Regions from separate parts of the Homo sapiens genome. Here all the other regions are linked to region 2. Evidence: promoter capture Hi-C in human tissues and cell types (Jung and others, 2019). All regions are on one chromosome and are shown on one strand. The core of a region is centred on a gene start or on the middle of the fragment in contact, and the rest is flanking DNA. Distances in the headings are between cores, read along the strand shown. Region 1 has its middle 62 kb from the start of SEC11C. Region 2 holds the start of ZNF532 (zinc finger protein 532). Region 3 has its middle 100 kb from the start of SEC11C. Region 4 has its middle 82 kb from the start of SEC11C.

The links. Contacts are between HindIII fragments. The study calls those that stand out against the background at their distance.
Region 1: a contact is called between a fragment that was not itself captured here and the fragment with the promoter of ZNF532 in region 2, in 1 of the 25 tissues and cell types used here (hippocampus).
Region 3: a contact is called between a fragment that was not itself captured here and the fragment with the promoter of ZNF532 in region 2, in 2 of the 25 tissues and cell types used here (liver and lymphoblastoid cells).
Region 4: a fragment that was not itself captured here is called in contact with the fragment with the promoter of ZNF532 in region 2 in 1 of the 25 tissues and cell types used here (dorsolateral prefrontal cortex).

The regions. Positions count from the first base shown.
Region 1 is chr18:59,076,389-59,080,349 of GRCh38, reverse strand. No RefSeq gene overlaps it. Among named protein-coding and RNA genes, the nearest start is that of SEC11C, 62 kb to the left of the region's middle. The HindIII fragment of the contact is 3,871 bases long and covers 447-3,961 here.
Region 2 is chr18:58,863,624-58,867,481 of GRCh38, reverse strand. ZNF532 (zinc finger protein 532) reads right to left here and starts at 2,605. Exons shown (of 10, transcript NM_001375912.1): 1 at 2,097-2,605; 2 at 1,903-2,012. The HindIII fragment of the contact is 28,079 bases long and covers 1-3,858 here.
Region 3 is chr18:59,033,519-59,036,987 of GRCh38, reverse strand. It overlaps the pseudogene OACYLP. Among named protein-coding and RNA genes, the nearest start is that of SEC11C, 100 kb to the left of the region's middle. The HindIII fragment of the contact is 3,889 bases long and covers 1-3,469 here.
Region 4 is chr18:59,055,535-59,059,448 of GRCh38, reverse strand. It overlaps the pseudogene OACYLP. Among named protein-coding and RNA genes, the nearest start is that of SEC11C, 82 kb to the left of the region's middle. The HindIII fragment of the contact is 4,187 bases long and covers 1-3,530 here.

The sequences.
Region 1 (3,961 bases), core at 1,133-3,632, 210 kb before region 2:
AGACCAGCCTGGCCAATATGGTGAAACCCCATCTCTACTAGAAATAAAAAAAAAATTAGCTGGGCATGGTGGTGGGCGCCTATAGTCCCAGCTACTCAGGAGGCTGAGGCAGGGAGAATTGCCTGAACCCGGAAGGCAGAGGTTGCAGTGAGCCGAGATCACATCACTGCACTCCAGCCTGGGCAACAGAGCAAGAATCCGTCTAAAAAAAAAAAAAAAAAAAAGTTTCTAACTTGCCATTGGGCCCTTGTAAAAACAGAATACCTGGCTATGGGACATTAGTGGTCATGTGACTTAAGCTATCCATAATGAATTTTTATCTAATCCAGTGAGTCATAAGGTTGGATGCCTGCAGAGGTCTCCATCATAAGTGGATATGGAATATGGGGGCAGGTCCTGAAAGTGACGGTACATCACTGGAGCAGAGGCTGTACAATCTCAGTGCACCACCTCCTGCTGCTACAATGCCATCTGCCATGACCTCACGGCTGGTTTCCTGGGATCAGTTGACTAAGAAAACATTCAGCCTGGTTTACAGAAGGTGCCACGCAATCATCTGAAAGTTGATACAATATTATAGCCCCATTCAGGGGTAGCTCTGGCAGGACAGAGAAATCCTTGTAATGGGTAGAACTTTGAATTCCTGGAAGAAGAGATGGCCAAATATATAGATCTTCACTAATTCCCAGGCAGCAGCTAACCATTTAGCTAGATGACTAACAGCTTGGAAGAAGTGAGACTGGAGGAATTCTTGACAAGGCCTGGGGCAAGTTGTATGGAAGACCTTCTCAGAATAAGCCCCAAGTGTGGCAATAATTGTGTCCCTCGTTACTATCATGGAAGAGCACCGCACATAAGGCTCTTAATTCTCAGGTGAGCAGGATGAGCATGATTCTTTGGCTATGAGCCAGCCTCTCCCCATGCAGCCAGCATGCCACCTTGCTGATAATCCTGCTGAGCAAGCACAGGGTGGCTGGATAAAGAGACAGAAGCAAGGCAGGCAGCAACCTTTTGCTGCTTTTTTTGCCCTGGAGCAGGCACCTTCCATGGAAGTATCTGACCTTAGCAGCATCCTCATCGTCATCGCTCCCTTCTCCACATCCTGCTCCACACAATGGTGCTGTTTTCGTATCCTCTACCTCTAGGAGCATATTTTGGGACATCCAGGCCCTTAATGTCAATATCAGTGTTTCTTGAAGTGTAGGCATCAGAATCGCTTACTTGTTTTTGTTAGTATGTAGGAGTCAGGAAATGTATTTTTATCAACATCCCCAAGTAATCTTTGTCTTCACTAAATTTTGTGACAATCTGATCTTGAACAAAAAGAAAGTAGTTCTCTTTTTTATTCTCTGTCTCTCTCAACTATCCACAGCCTGCCCTCTTAGTTCAGTTTCCTGGGCTAAGGACTTCCTTTTTCCTAGTGTCTGGCCCCAGGAACAATCTCTTTTTAGTGGCCGTAGCCCCCATATCTGCAAGATGTAGCCTTAAACCTCATAAAACTCTACAGAAGAACCATATGCCAGTTCAGTGTAGCCTCGGCATTCATGTAAGAAATCTTCCCTTCCAAGAATGGAGTGGGTTGGGTCTTCCTTCTTTGCCCTGCCAGAAGTCATCATGATGAAGAAGGCTGACAGCTGGAGAACAGAAAGCTGAAGATCATGGGTTTATTGGTCCACTCCTCGCTGAGGAGAGGTTGAGATTGAAAAATCCTAAAAGGGAAGCAACTCCCAGACTGCCAGCTGGGAAGGCACAGTCTGGGGCCAGAGAAGCTCCCCACTGCAGATCCATTTCCAGCGTGGAGAAAGCGTCCTCCTGCTCCCTCCAGTTTCAGCCTGTCCTGTGGTTTTCTGCAGCCTTTCAGGCAAACACAGACAATGGCATTCCCATCTTCCCTGATCCCTCCATTCCCACCATGCCACCTCCCCTCAGCAGATTCCTGCTGATGTTCACCTAAGCCTCCACCCCCTCAAACCCTTTACCCTCATCACCATAGTCATCACAACCTGCTTACTTTATTCATACCAAGTAGCAACTGAAAAGTCAAATTTCTGCGGTTGGGAATGCTTAGCTTCAGCAACAAAGTGTCTATATGTCAGACCACAATGGAACGCAGTAGTTTGAACTTTTAAAATGTAATTAACAGCTAGACAGTGCTTCTCCAAACTCCCAATCCAGTAAGCACTGAAGTGTAGAGTATCTAAAACCTTAACAGACTTCCCCTGTTTCTCGCAGGGGTTTTATAAAAGGATATCAAGGAGAATGACTGCCCTTCTAGCCCAGAGATTGTAGTAGGGGATTTGTTTAGAGTTAAAGAAAATATCTCATGGGACTTGGGTTCTGTTGGGTTCTGGACACTGATTTGTTGTGTCCAACATGACCAGATTTGCTGATTTGTTTGAAGCCCATTGGTCTCAGGTTCATCTTCTGTAAAATAAGATGTTTCCCAAGAAAGGGTCTCTACATGTCTCAGAAGCTTTTATGAGGCTGTGAGCCTCATCTGATACCAGAGGAAGATATCACCAGCTCACTGTTCACAAGTCCATCCCATTCCCAGCGTGGATCTGAAAACCACAGAGTGCCAGTCTCTGTAAGTGTCCTCTATTGTCTCTGGTCCAGATCCATGAAGATCCTGAACATGTTTGCACAACTGGAGGGAACAAGGGGGCCTCCCGGGGAGATACAGGGAGGCTGTGTGACAATGGGGAAAAAGCAGCACATTTGGAGGAGGCCTCGGTCCCCCAGGTCTGGTGGTAAGACCCTCTTTTAAGCTTCCTTAGTCCTCATCTTCCTTCAAGCATTGAGGAAACATAAAATACCTCACAGAATCCTCAAGGAGTGCAAATGTCCTAAGTCTTTCTCACCTTCCAAGCCCACATCACACTCCAGCTTCCAGCGATCTCTCTCCTGCTTTTCACAGTCAAACTTCTGGAAAGAATTGCTCATAAACCCCCTGCCTGGTTAACCCATCAGGACATGGTGGCTGAGCATATGGGCTCTGGATTCGAACTGCTTGGATTCATATCCTGGTGCCCCCACCTGGCCCCCACCATTGGCCTTGCACCAATGACATAGCTCTGTGCCTCAGTTTCTCCATGTGTAGATGAGGATAATAGTGTTTATGTGCATGCTGTATTAGGATTAAATGCCTTGGTTTCTGTAAAGTGCTTAGGAAGGTACCTGGCATATAATGAGCCCTCAATAAATACTAGGTATCACTGTCTTACAAATCTCAATTTAGGGCTAGCTTCTCAGAAATTCCACTTCAGGCCTCCTAGTTAGGGTCAGGCTTTCACAGTTCTCACTTAAGTTGAAATTAGGTATTTTTGGTGTGATTATCATGACCCTCATGCAGGGCACTCACTATAAGGTCAAAGGGAGCAGAAATTGCACCTGTGTTTCTCTACATAGTGTTCCTACTGCTTAGCTCAGTAACTGGCACACAGCAGGAACAAATACATATTTCTTGAACATACAAAGGAATGAGTGAGCACTGGTACTGGCCTGAGTCCGTTAATGAATGGAGGCTGCTGTCAGAGAGCAAGTGCCCCAAGCTCCTGGACGAACCCATAATGGAAGAGATCTTTGGCCAAAGGGTACCTGGCCGCTTGAAAGAATGACTATGGCTCCCAAAGGGGGCCTATTAGGGAAGCCCTTTGGGCGTAAGAAAGCTGACTTTGGGCCAAAGACTGTGCATGTCTTGGAGAAGTTGCTATTTGCACGTGAATGTCATCAACTGAGACCGTGATGTAGAACGAATCCTGTCACTCCTTGAGTCCTGTGGCTCATTGGAATCCTTTTGGAAGTTTTGGAAAAAAAAAAAAAAAAAAAAAAAAAAGCACAGATTCCTAAGCCCCACTCCAATCTGGAAATCTCCAGGAGTAGATCCTGGGAACCTAGATTTTTAAAAAGCTCTTTGGGTGATTCCGTTGCCACCAGCCTGTACAGACCAGCAGGCTCTAAT
Region 2 (3,858 bases), core at 1,356-3,855:
ACATTGTTATACCTCAGCATGAGATCAACACCTGAGACAAGCTCCAATCCAAGATGAGCTCATGACTCCCGCCCCAGAGAACCAGCTCTCCAACCCTCAGCAGCATTTGCAGCTGGAAAGATTGGTCTAAATGCAAAACAAATGCTATCTTCAGGAGACTTCAAGGGGGAGGGAGAGGAACAAAGCTAAAAACCACCAAGACAGAAAACCAGAACATTCCATGACATGCAATGCCCTACGAAGAGGTTTTTTAAAACATATTCGCACTGTATAGCCGTGGCAAGGGGTTAGCTGTCAAAGTTAAACAAAAATCACTGACTCTCAAAAGACAAGAATGAAGGACTAAATAATAAAACAGCTTATTGTATTAAGCTAATTAAGGTTTATCATATTAGCCATCTGAGTTTTAGTTGACATCAGAAACGCAGAAGCAGCACACCACGCGCAGCGTGGATTCGGATCTGCTTTGCAAGCATATTCCTGCCACACTCATACACAGAACCTCTGGCAGTCAGAAATGATGGAGAATTGAAAACCAATTTTAGCACAGTGATTTGTAAAGAATTTTGTTCCATCATGTAAGCTATTTACTGGTATATCCGTCCAAGATTACATTTATCTCTATTAAATACTCCATAAAGTATCCTGAGCTAACCATGCACTCTTGTTTCCCTTTTGCCAGTTTTATCACATAGTGGATGTTCTGTAGCCAAATGAAAAACATTTTAACAATAAAACCCTTGCATACTTGACGTCCTTCACTGCAGATATCCTGCCCACCAACTGCCAGCACACAACTTAACCAATTCCAAGATCCTCGGCACTGCTGAAAAGCCCCTATTCTGCTGAACACGGAGAGGAACAAAATGCCCACTTCGAAGTAGGGGAAAATTTTATTTTCAGTCATGTCTTCTATGGGCTCCTCTTGACTGTACTTTTACCAAAAACCAGCAGAAAGGCAGGACCAGTTCTATCTGTTGTTGAGATCACACTGGATCCCATTCTGGAGCTGCTGGTTTCCTGTTTGGGGAAGTTGCAGTTCTTTTCACAAGGAACCCAAGGCAAAATGTTGAGTGTTCTCCTGCAAGCCCCCTCAGCCTTTGTTCTTCACTTTGCTACTCTCCTCACTCCTTCCTTCTCTCCTCTCCTCTCCAACCTCTGGTTTTGGAAGGTGCATTAAAATGCCTGCTCAAACCTAACTGCGATCTTTAAAGGCATCAGACATTTTCTACCACCCATTCCAGTACAGCTTTGAGTTAACAGGCATCTTTTCACAGATGAAGCCAGACTACCCGGCTTCCCCCTGGTATTGCATTAGTATTCCACATTAAACATATGCCACAAAGAATCCAATGGCGAACTCACCGTCAACAGCCCCCAAAATCAATAAAAGACATTCCACCACTTGAGTCGGAGTGAAAAACCTTTCAGGTTAACACAAGAGAGCAAGGTAAAAGAAAGGTGATGAATGAACAAAAGGCAAATCTACCTTCAGACTCCTCAAATCCTAAAAAGGTGGCTAGGCTGCCTCGATTTGGTGAAGCCCTTCCTTTTCTTATAATCATCGGGAAAATGCCACATGTGTACTGCTTTCGTCTTATGCAAAACAGCACATTCTCCACAAGGCCCTGACGCCTACCATTCTCCACACTCGCTTCCTTCCAGGCCTGACTCTCCCAATTGCCCAGACACATGCGATTTAATGAAGGCATTCAGATTTCGCCTTGATCGCAATACCATCATAAAGTCACTCTAATCCCATTAAACTGGGATAACATTAAGAGCATTTCTTCTCCACTCTGAACCCAATTTTATCTCCTGGGTAGCAATCCACGGTCCGTCTGTGTCTAAATGGATCTGCAAATAAATATTTAAATTCATGCTCAAAACAGCGTATCTCACCTTGTGAACCTTGACCTTTTGGAAAGACTTTAGACCAATGTTCAGTTACTGTCACACGGCTGCATTCTCAGCAAATAGGAAAGGGTTAAAAGCAGCCCCAGTCAACAGGCCTACAAGGAAAAAAAAGACAGCATGTATGGCTAACAGCATCACTGGAATGCATTTATGTTCATTTCCTAGAACGATATTGTTACCTTTTGGCCTTCATAATAGTCAGAAGCATCCCCAACACCCTTTAGTAGCTTCTAAAAGAAAAAGCACAAGACAGAACATACCCTGCAAGAGAAAAAAAGCATGCAAAGTAGCATTCTCCAGCAACAAACAAACTACCATTACAAACCCCTCAGTTCATTTTGGTTTTGTTTTGTTATAAACACCGAGAAAGAGAGAGAGAGACTGCATCAACCAAGTGTCCCCACCCTAGCAAGGCACATTTTTTTCTCTAATAAGGGTCATAAATCTCAGCTCCTTGTCCATCCCTTAAGCAAAAGAAAAAGGCAGGAAAAGCCCAAGTAATCTCAGACCCTGCAAACCTGCACCTTTTTTTCCATCTTCTCTACCCAGAATCTTTTAGGGCTCCATTAGTCACGTACCAGTGCTGTGTGGTGTCTAAGTGTGCATTCACATACTGTGTAGGGATGGTACCTTCCTGCAAGCTCCTCTGCTTTTGGCTGCCATGAAGGGAGGAAGCTGCTATCCTACTGTAGTAGCTCAGTGACTGCATTGTGTTCAGGAGCTGATCTGCCTCAAACCAGTTTCAGCCGGTTCTGGTCACCCTACATAAAAAAGCTATGGCAACCCTCGCTGAGTTGCCAACAAGTCCCTGAAAATCATCAGCACAGGGGGGATCTCGCTGGGGTTTGCTCTTCCCTCTTAGGTCTTCCTGAGGAGGAGAAGGTCATCGTGTGTCCCCCCACCCCACGAGCACACAGCCTTGGAAATGCTCACCTCGCAAGCACCCCAGAGCCCCTCAGGGCCCATCCCCCCTCCCCTCCACCCCACAGCCCACCGCAGACACTGTTTCCCCCTCCTTCTCCTTCCCCCACTTACCTCCCACAACCTGGCTCAGATCTTTGTGTACGTGTGTGTCAGTGTGTGCTCTCTGTGTTGGTGGCTGACAAAGAGCCCCCAAGAAAGCGAGCTATGTGTGTCTGCTCACACGGGATGCGTCGGCTGCAGAGCCGGCCTGGCCTCCTAGCACAGTGGTGCTGGCTTGTTGACCAGGCTCCTCTCTGCTGTCACCCCCACCCCACCCAGCCCCCTCCTCCCTTCCGTCCCTCTCCTCTCTCTCCCAGCCCTGTCACCACCACCAGCAGCCCCCCAGTCTCCTCCTCCTCCTCCAACCTTCTCTTCTTTCAAGCACCTGGGGGGAGAAGTCCAAATCCCTTCACCTCGGGGGAAGAAAACTGGGGCTGTCTGGGGAGGGGGCGGGGGGCGAAGGCAGGGCCAGTGGGAGAGGGGGCACGGAGGCCTCTGGAAACGCATCTGTGCCCGGCCGGCGCCGGCGGGGGGAGTAGGAGAGCCGCGCTCACGTGGCCCCCGTCTCGTAACCTGCGGGGCCTAGCCCGGGCGGTTCCTCCTCGGCCCCCCAAGCCAGCTGGCGGGGCGCGAAGGCCGGCTGTCCCCAAGGCCAGGGTGGGACAGGCCACTGCGGGCAGGCCCAGGGGCCTGAGCCTCACGCGCTCACCCCGGCCCGCAGGAGTGGGCACGAGGGGCCGCACCCCGCCTCTGCCCGGCGCCCACCCGCGCCCCTGGGTCCGGCTGCCCTGCGCCCCTCGTTCGCCCCGGCCGCCTCCCGCCGCCCCGCACCCCCAGAGGCGCACACCCACCCCCTTCCCGGGGTTGGCCTTCGCGGCGGTCAAGCCCGGGCGTCTGGGCCGCAGCTCGGATGACCTTTGTTCAGCGCGGCGCCGCCGGCGGCTGCTGCTGTGGCTGCTGCTGCTGTCGTCGGAGCGG
Region 3 (3,469 bases), core at 604-3,103, 170 kb before region 2:
CACACAGTGGGTTTCTAAGCACTCTGCTGTTCCATTCAAGCACATTATCTGTAACAAACATTAAAAAGCAGTGTCTTTTTGTTTCATAGAAGAAAATCATGTGATTTCTCTTTTCAGAAAAAGCAAGAGGAACACCTTCGACTTTCAGTTGTGCTGGGCAGGCTTTAAGAATCACTATAGGCCAGGCACAGTGGCTCACGCCTGTAATCCCAGCACTTTGGGAGGCCAAGGCAGGCAGATCATGAGGTCAGGAGTTCAAGACCAACCTGGCCAACATAGTGAATCCCCGTCTCTACTAAAAACACAAAAAATTAGCCAGCCATGGTGGTGGGCACCCATAATCCCAGCTACTTGGGAGGCTGAGGCAGGAGAATCACTTGAACGCAGGAGGTGGAGGTTGCAGTGAGCCGAGATCATGCCATTGTACTCCAGCCTGGGGGTGACAGAGTGAGATTCTGTCTCAAGAAAAAAAAAAAAAAAAAAGAAGAAGAATCAATGTAATTCATGTCGAAGGAGAAGTTAGACTGGGAATAAAAGGCAGTGACTGAGGTCCCTACTGGTCGTTCAGGAGCTTTGAGCTCCTTTGTGCACTCACGGTGGCCACAGCCCCCCTGGACTGTAGCACCACCTATTCATGGGCTGGTGCAGACCACCCGGGAGGCTTCTTCAATCTGCCCTGGGCTGTGTTTACTCCCTATTTAGAGAGTACCACTATTATTGATAGGAGCGCTTCAGGAGGGTAGCAGCAGGGAGAAGGTGGAGAAACACTGATTTGATATTAGTGGACCATGTTTATGCTTGTCTGCTTTTCAAGGAAAAATAAATGTTAGGTCCTGGCTTCACTAACCATGATGAGAGAGAATTCGGCTCTTTGGATAACGAAAATACAATACCCAGGTATCACTATATACCTGGCAGCCAGGTACCTGATTTATACCTAGAGGGAGTGAAAGGAGCCACTAGACACTGGCCTGGAAAGCTTACTGATGGGAGGTTACACACAGTGTGTCTAAAACAGAAGGAAGTCTGCTCGTGGGAAGGCTGCCAGTCTCCCATCCTTTGGCCAACGTGATCCCGCCATACCAAAGAATGTCTCTTCCCTGACTGCTCCTAGAGTAAAGGCTCATCAACTCTCCGCACCCAAAGACAGCCATGCAGTCATCTGACTGGTGTGTCCCGAGATGATCCAAAGAAGACTCAAGACACGAATGCCATTCAGTGCAGAGCAGGTGCCACCTGGTGCCTTTGTAGTCCAGATGGCTGGCACATTCTTCTGCCAAGAAAAGCACTCCAGAGCATGAGCCACGGCTCCTAGAAACCCTGGGCAAGAGCAAAGATGTTACTGTCCACCTTGACTGCCAGGGTATCCACACACCACCCCGCAACAAGAACCAAAGCACAATCCACAGATCTTGGCAGTTACTCGGAGGCTCTCTTGCTCTGACCCTGGGCTTCTCAGCTCAGCCTCCGTGGTTCCATCTTCATCTATCTGTGGACTTTCATACTTGGTATCCCTCCCTTTTGAATCTTGACTTTCCCTAACAGACTTGACCTGAGTTTGGTGCCCCACATGCTTTGCACAGAATACGCTGCCCAAGCTCAGGCCCCAGAGATGCCAACCCCTGACCCCAGTCCTGCTTGACGAAGAGTTGAGGGAAGGAGAACGCAGACATCAGTAAGAATCGATGTGATACACAAAGCAAGACTTTCACTTGAAAGAACACCCCTGCAATCCTGAGGACTAGTTACTTATGAATAATGAGCCAGGTGCGGTGGCTCACGTCTGTAATCCCAGCACTTTGGGAGGCCGAGGCAGGTGGATCACTTGAGGTCAGGAGTTTGAGACCAGCCTGACCAACATGAAACCCCATCTCTACTAAAAATACAGTTAGCCGGGCATGGTGGTGCATGCCTGTAGTCCCAGCTACTCCGGAAGCTGAGGCAGGAGAATCACTTGAACCCAGGAGGTGGAGGTTGCAGTGAGCTGAGACTGCACCACTGCATTCTAGCCTGGGTGACAGAGTGAGACTCCGTCTCAAAAATAATAATAATAATAATAATAATAATAATAATAATAATGAATAACAACCCTAACGTAGGTCAAAGTATAGGCATGAAAACAGAAGGACCAGTGGCACAGGAGCTTAGGGCACAGGCCATATAGCCAGATGCTCCTGGCTCTGATTCTGTCATTTATCAGCTCTGTGACCCCCGGCAAGTGAATTAACCTCTCTGTGTCTAAGTTTCCACATCTGCAAAATAATCAAAGTAGATTTTAAAGGATTATCATGAAGAACAAATGAGATAATGCTTATAAATCACATTAAATAGAGGCAACCTAGTATGTACTCGTGAGAACACAGCTACTACTACCACTGTTTTAAGCCCTATCACTTTAAGAATGGTTAATACCATCTTCTTAATTCATTCCCTTTCTTAAAGAATTTAATGTTTACCTATCTGAGAACGAAGCAAGTGTCTGGAATTGCAAAACAGGGGCCTCCAAGCTCAAGCCGGCTCTGAGAGACTCACATTTCCTCCTGGACAGAGCCCCGTGCCTTCAACATTGTGGGCACAAAGAAGTCTTTGCAGAATTAAAACTTATTCACAAATGAGGTCTGGCTCATAACCAAACTCTGGAAATCTAAGGCAATTTCTTAAATTGAAGAATTTAACTACCTAACATTTTGAAGTTCCAGCCGTGAATACAAGTTTTTCCATTTAAGTCACTTTGTGATTGCGTCTCTGTCTGAAGTCACCACACCCACCCTTTTCATTCACAGGGGTTTTCACTCAGGAATTGGCCACAACTACAGCACAACCAGCAGCCTCCTAGAGCTGATTCACCTGCTCCTCCTCAGTTTCCCGAGCAGTGGAGAGATACAGGACCCGGGCTCTGCCAGGTTTGGCCAACTTCTTTAGCCTCCCTGAGCCTCAGTTTCCTCGCTTTTAGAATGGGTATAATTTTTGGTAGGGTTGTAATGGGGATTCTAGAACATCAAATATCTGGTTTGATGCCTCATGTGGCAAGCTAGTGCTCAATATGTTTTGTTACTATGTTTTTTCCATCTAAATTCTGCTAGTGAATGAACTTACCCATCAGTGGTTTATAAAGGTTTCTGAAAATAACTGGTCTAGAGGGAGGACAACCTCCCTGAGGCTCATTTAGCTCATTTGTAAATGGAAAGTGTTATAAACAATAAGAACGTGGGGAGGATTGGCTGAAATGATGCATGCAATCACCGGTTCTCAAAGCAGAGGTCTCTGAGCCAGCAGCTTCAACATCACCTGGGAACTTATTAGAAATGCAGATTCCCAGGCCCCACCACAGACTTACCAGGTCAGAGTCTTTGGGTCAGGGCCCAGGAATCTGTGCTGTAATAGTCTTCCAGGTGACTCTGATGCACTCCAAAGTTGAAGACCCATTGGTTGTGACAATGCTCTAAAAAACTTTGCAGCCACTTCCGGT
Region 4 (3,914 bases), core at 188-2,687, 190 kb before region 2:
TTGATCTGGACATGGCAAAGGGAATCCAAATCCCTGAGATGTCCATTGGAATAATCAGCAAGCCCAAAGGTACATTTAGGGCACACTTGTTCATTTCCTTAGTCATGGTGCGCAAACAGTGACCTCATGGCCCCACCTCAGCCAAAGTTGGCTTGTTTAGGTTCCAAATTCCCTCAGGCCCCTCCACCCCAGATCCCAAGGAAATATCATGAGTGTATTCATTTTAAATAGCTGTGTCTGGTGGCCAATATGTCAGAATGTTCTAAAAATGTAGCACCCAGATGTGAACCCAAGGGTCCCAAGGACAGAGACTGTCCTGAGAGAGAAGTGATGAGAGGTCCAGGCCAGGCTATTAAAAGGACACCAAAAACTATTCTTTGAAGCTGTGTTTTTCAAGGTTTCATCCCTTGACATCAACAGCTGCGTCAGGCCAGGCATGGTGGCTCACACATGTAATCCCAGCACTTTGGGAAGCCGAGGCAAGAGGATCATTGAGCCCAGGAGTTTGAGACCAATCTGGGCAACATAGAGAGACCCCAACTCTACAAAAAAAAAAAAATTAGCCAGGCCTGGAGGCACATGCCTACAGTCCCAGCTTCTCAGGAGGCTGAAGCAGGAGGTTCGCTTGAGCTCAGGAGGTTGAGGCTGCAGTGAGCGGTGATCATGCCACTGTGCTCCAGCCTGGATGACAGAGTGAGACTCTGTTGCAATAGAATAAAAAACACAGACAAAAAAAAAAAACACCTGCATCACCTGAGAACTTATTAGGAACCCAGACTCATGGGCCCCACCCTGACCTACTGGCAGTGGGCTCAACCATCTGTGTGTTAAGAAGCCCTCCAGGTGACCCTGATACCCCCTCAAGGCTGAGAAGCTTTGCCTAAACAGTGCCATTCACGGGAGGCATCCAGGTTATACCCAAGCCCAGGGAATCATCATCTCTGCACATGGACTCAGGGACTAGAAATTTTAAAACTCTCCTGAGTTTCCCAAAGGCAGATTGAGAACCCCTGCTTTAAATTTATCACCGTTAAAATTATCACCATTCCCCACTGAAGCTAGACGCACTCTCAGCCCCTAGCTGCCCATGCAGGGACCACTGGAGGAAGGGAAGGTGTTTGAGGACTAGACGTATGGTTCTTCAACTGTGGCTGCACATAAGAATTTATTCTGCAAATTAGAATTTGTAAGCACCCTGGGAATGCTTACAAAAGTCCGCTGCCTGGGCCCCATGCCCAGAGATTCTGATTCAATTGTTCGGAGGTGGGTGGGGATGAAAGCATCAGTAGATTTAGAAGCTCCCAAGTGACTCTAATATGTGGCCAGGGTTGAAAACCGCTGGGCTGGACATGAGTGAGCCTCCTCCTCAATCACTTCACCATGCCATGATATGGGAAGGGCATGATAGTCTCCTGGTCAGGAGGCTTGGGATGTTGTCACCAATTCATTCATTTATTCTCATATGCCACCCACTCACAGATTCACATGGAACACTCACATACCAGGAACGGTTCTGGCCATTTTATTTTGGAAGATCGGCAAAGGCTGCTCTGAGAAGGTGACATTTGCACAGACACCTGAAAGATGTGAAGGAGAAAGCCCTGCCAAGATCTTAGATTTTAACAGAAGAGTAATTCAGGCTCAAAAGCAAGTGCTAAGGCCCCGGGTTGGGGAGGGTGGGGAAGGGGGTTCGGGGAGCGTGCTTGGTGCGTTGAGATGAGTTGGTGTGGCTGGTCCAGTGTCAGCAGGTAGGAGGGTGACCAATGAGGCCACTGGAGGAATTCAAGCAGATGACTGACATAATCTGATTTTCATTTGTGTCACTGCATTGAGAGAAGATTAGCAGGTAATCATAACAGTTTTTCCTGTGTAAGTGTCATACATGCCTCATTGGGGAGGGGAAATAGCACTGTGGATTGGCTTCTAAGTTCAAATCACACCTGTGCCACCTACTAGTTGTGTGACCTTGAAGAGGTAGGTTCAGTCTCTCCATCCAACAGAGCCACCAAGCAGCAATTGGCTGCTGGAGGAGAAACACAGTACAGCCACATGGGGGCGCTCCTTCCTCTGGGAAGCGTTTCAATGGGCAACGTTGAGTTCAGAGAGGACCTACCAGTGCAGGTTGAAAGGTTCAGAAGTTTGGAAGCAAGAAGGCAATCAGCTTTCCCATCCAGACCAAAAGTTTCATACCCACTTTTTCCATGAACCAAAGGGCACAGGGTGAACAGCCTGGCATTCAGCAGCCCTCCCCGGGAAGTCCTGGCCAGAAAGGGGCAGGCTGGGGAACCGCATTACCTGGTTTCTGATGGAGCCACGACAGGAAGTTTATATGCCAAGGTGATCAGAGCAGTGGCTGTGAAAGATGCCAAGAACAGCATGGCCCCAAGGAGGATGAGGATCTGTGTACTCCTGCAAAGAAGAGAGGATACGGAGAGGAGTGCCCTTCAGTTTCTTGCCCCACACATGCGCTTCCTATGGCACGAAAGGCTGGAAATCCTGACCATCAGAGGTACTTCCTGCTTTTGAGAGGCCCTGCTTTTGAGAGGCTGATGAGTGGCAGGGAGAGCGGGGCTGGGGCTGGAGGACCTGAGGCAGCCTCGGTCTTGACCATCCATTAGTTGTGCCACACCGGGCAGGGCCTTGAGCTTGAGTTTCCTGGTCTAGACAGGAACAGTAATCGCATCCTCGCCTGCCCACCCTGAGGCTTACTATGCAGCTCAAAAGGAGTCCATGCCTGGGAACGTCCCTTGTCATCTATGAAACCCGATATGGATACAAGTGGTGGTTGATTTGGGAGAGAGGACTGTCAAAGGCAGGGTGGGACACGGGGTGGACCCACTCCAAGCACAGGGGAGAGAGGATCGAGAAGGAGGATGGTATGGTTTGGATCTTTGTCCCTGCCCATATCTCATGTGGAATTGTAATCCCCAGTGTTGAAGTGGGGCCTGATAGGAGGTGACTGGATCGTGGGGATGGATTTCCCCCTTGCTGTTCTTGTGATAGTGAGTGAATTCTCATGAGATCTGGCTGTTTAAAAGTGTGTAGCACCTCCCCGCTTTGCTCTCTTCCTCCTGCTCCCACCATATTAAGATGTGCCTGGTTCCCCATCTGCCCTGATTGTAAGTTTCCTGAGGCCTTCCCAGAAGCAGAAGCCTGCACAGCCTGCAGAACCATGAGTCAATTAAACCTCTTTTCTTTATAAATTACCCAGTCTCAGGTAGTTCTTTATAGCATGTGAAAACGGACTAATGCAGAGGGGGAACCAGGCACGCCTTCAACTGAGGAGCAGAGCCTGAGACAAATGTCCGGGTGCAGGTAGTTCACGTGGGTGTAGGAATGAGGGATAGGGTAGGAGAACAGGGAAGCAGGGAAAACCAATACCAGGATGTGCTATCAAGGTGGCCAATGCTCAGTTCTTCCAGAATGTTCCACAGGGCCATATGAAATGTACCTTAAAACTGTCCTGTGAGATGAAAGACAGAAGGATTTTCCCACTGTCTTCTATCTCAAATGGGTTAAGGATGGTCCCACACAAATTAATTCCTCCACACTTTGGGACCGTGCATGTATAAGACTAGGATGTTTCCTGAAGCACCCAGAGTGAGGCGCTGTCTGGTTGTACCTGCTCCGAAGTGTGAGGGTTGGGATTAAGAGGATCCACAGTGGTGTGGAAGAAATGTCAAACACAAGTGCGAGACCATCCAGGCACAGCCTGACCTGGAAAATGCCTTTGACAATGCAATTCTGCTAGTGAAAGTTGCCATGGCTGTTCATGAGGAAGGGATGAGATAGATACTATTCAGTTATCAAGTGATACAGGGAGAAAATTATTTTCAGCCAGAGTACCAATGTTAGTGTAATATTTGGAAAGAAGGATGAATTCTAGCTCCATGATGCTATGATTGATTACTAAT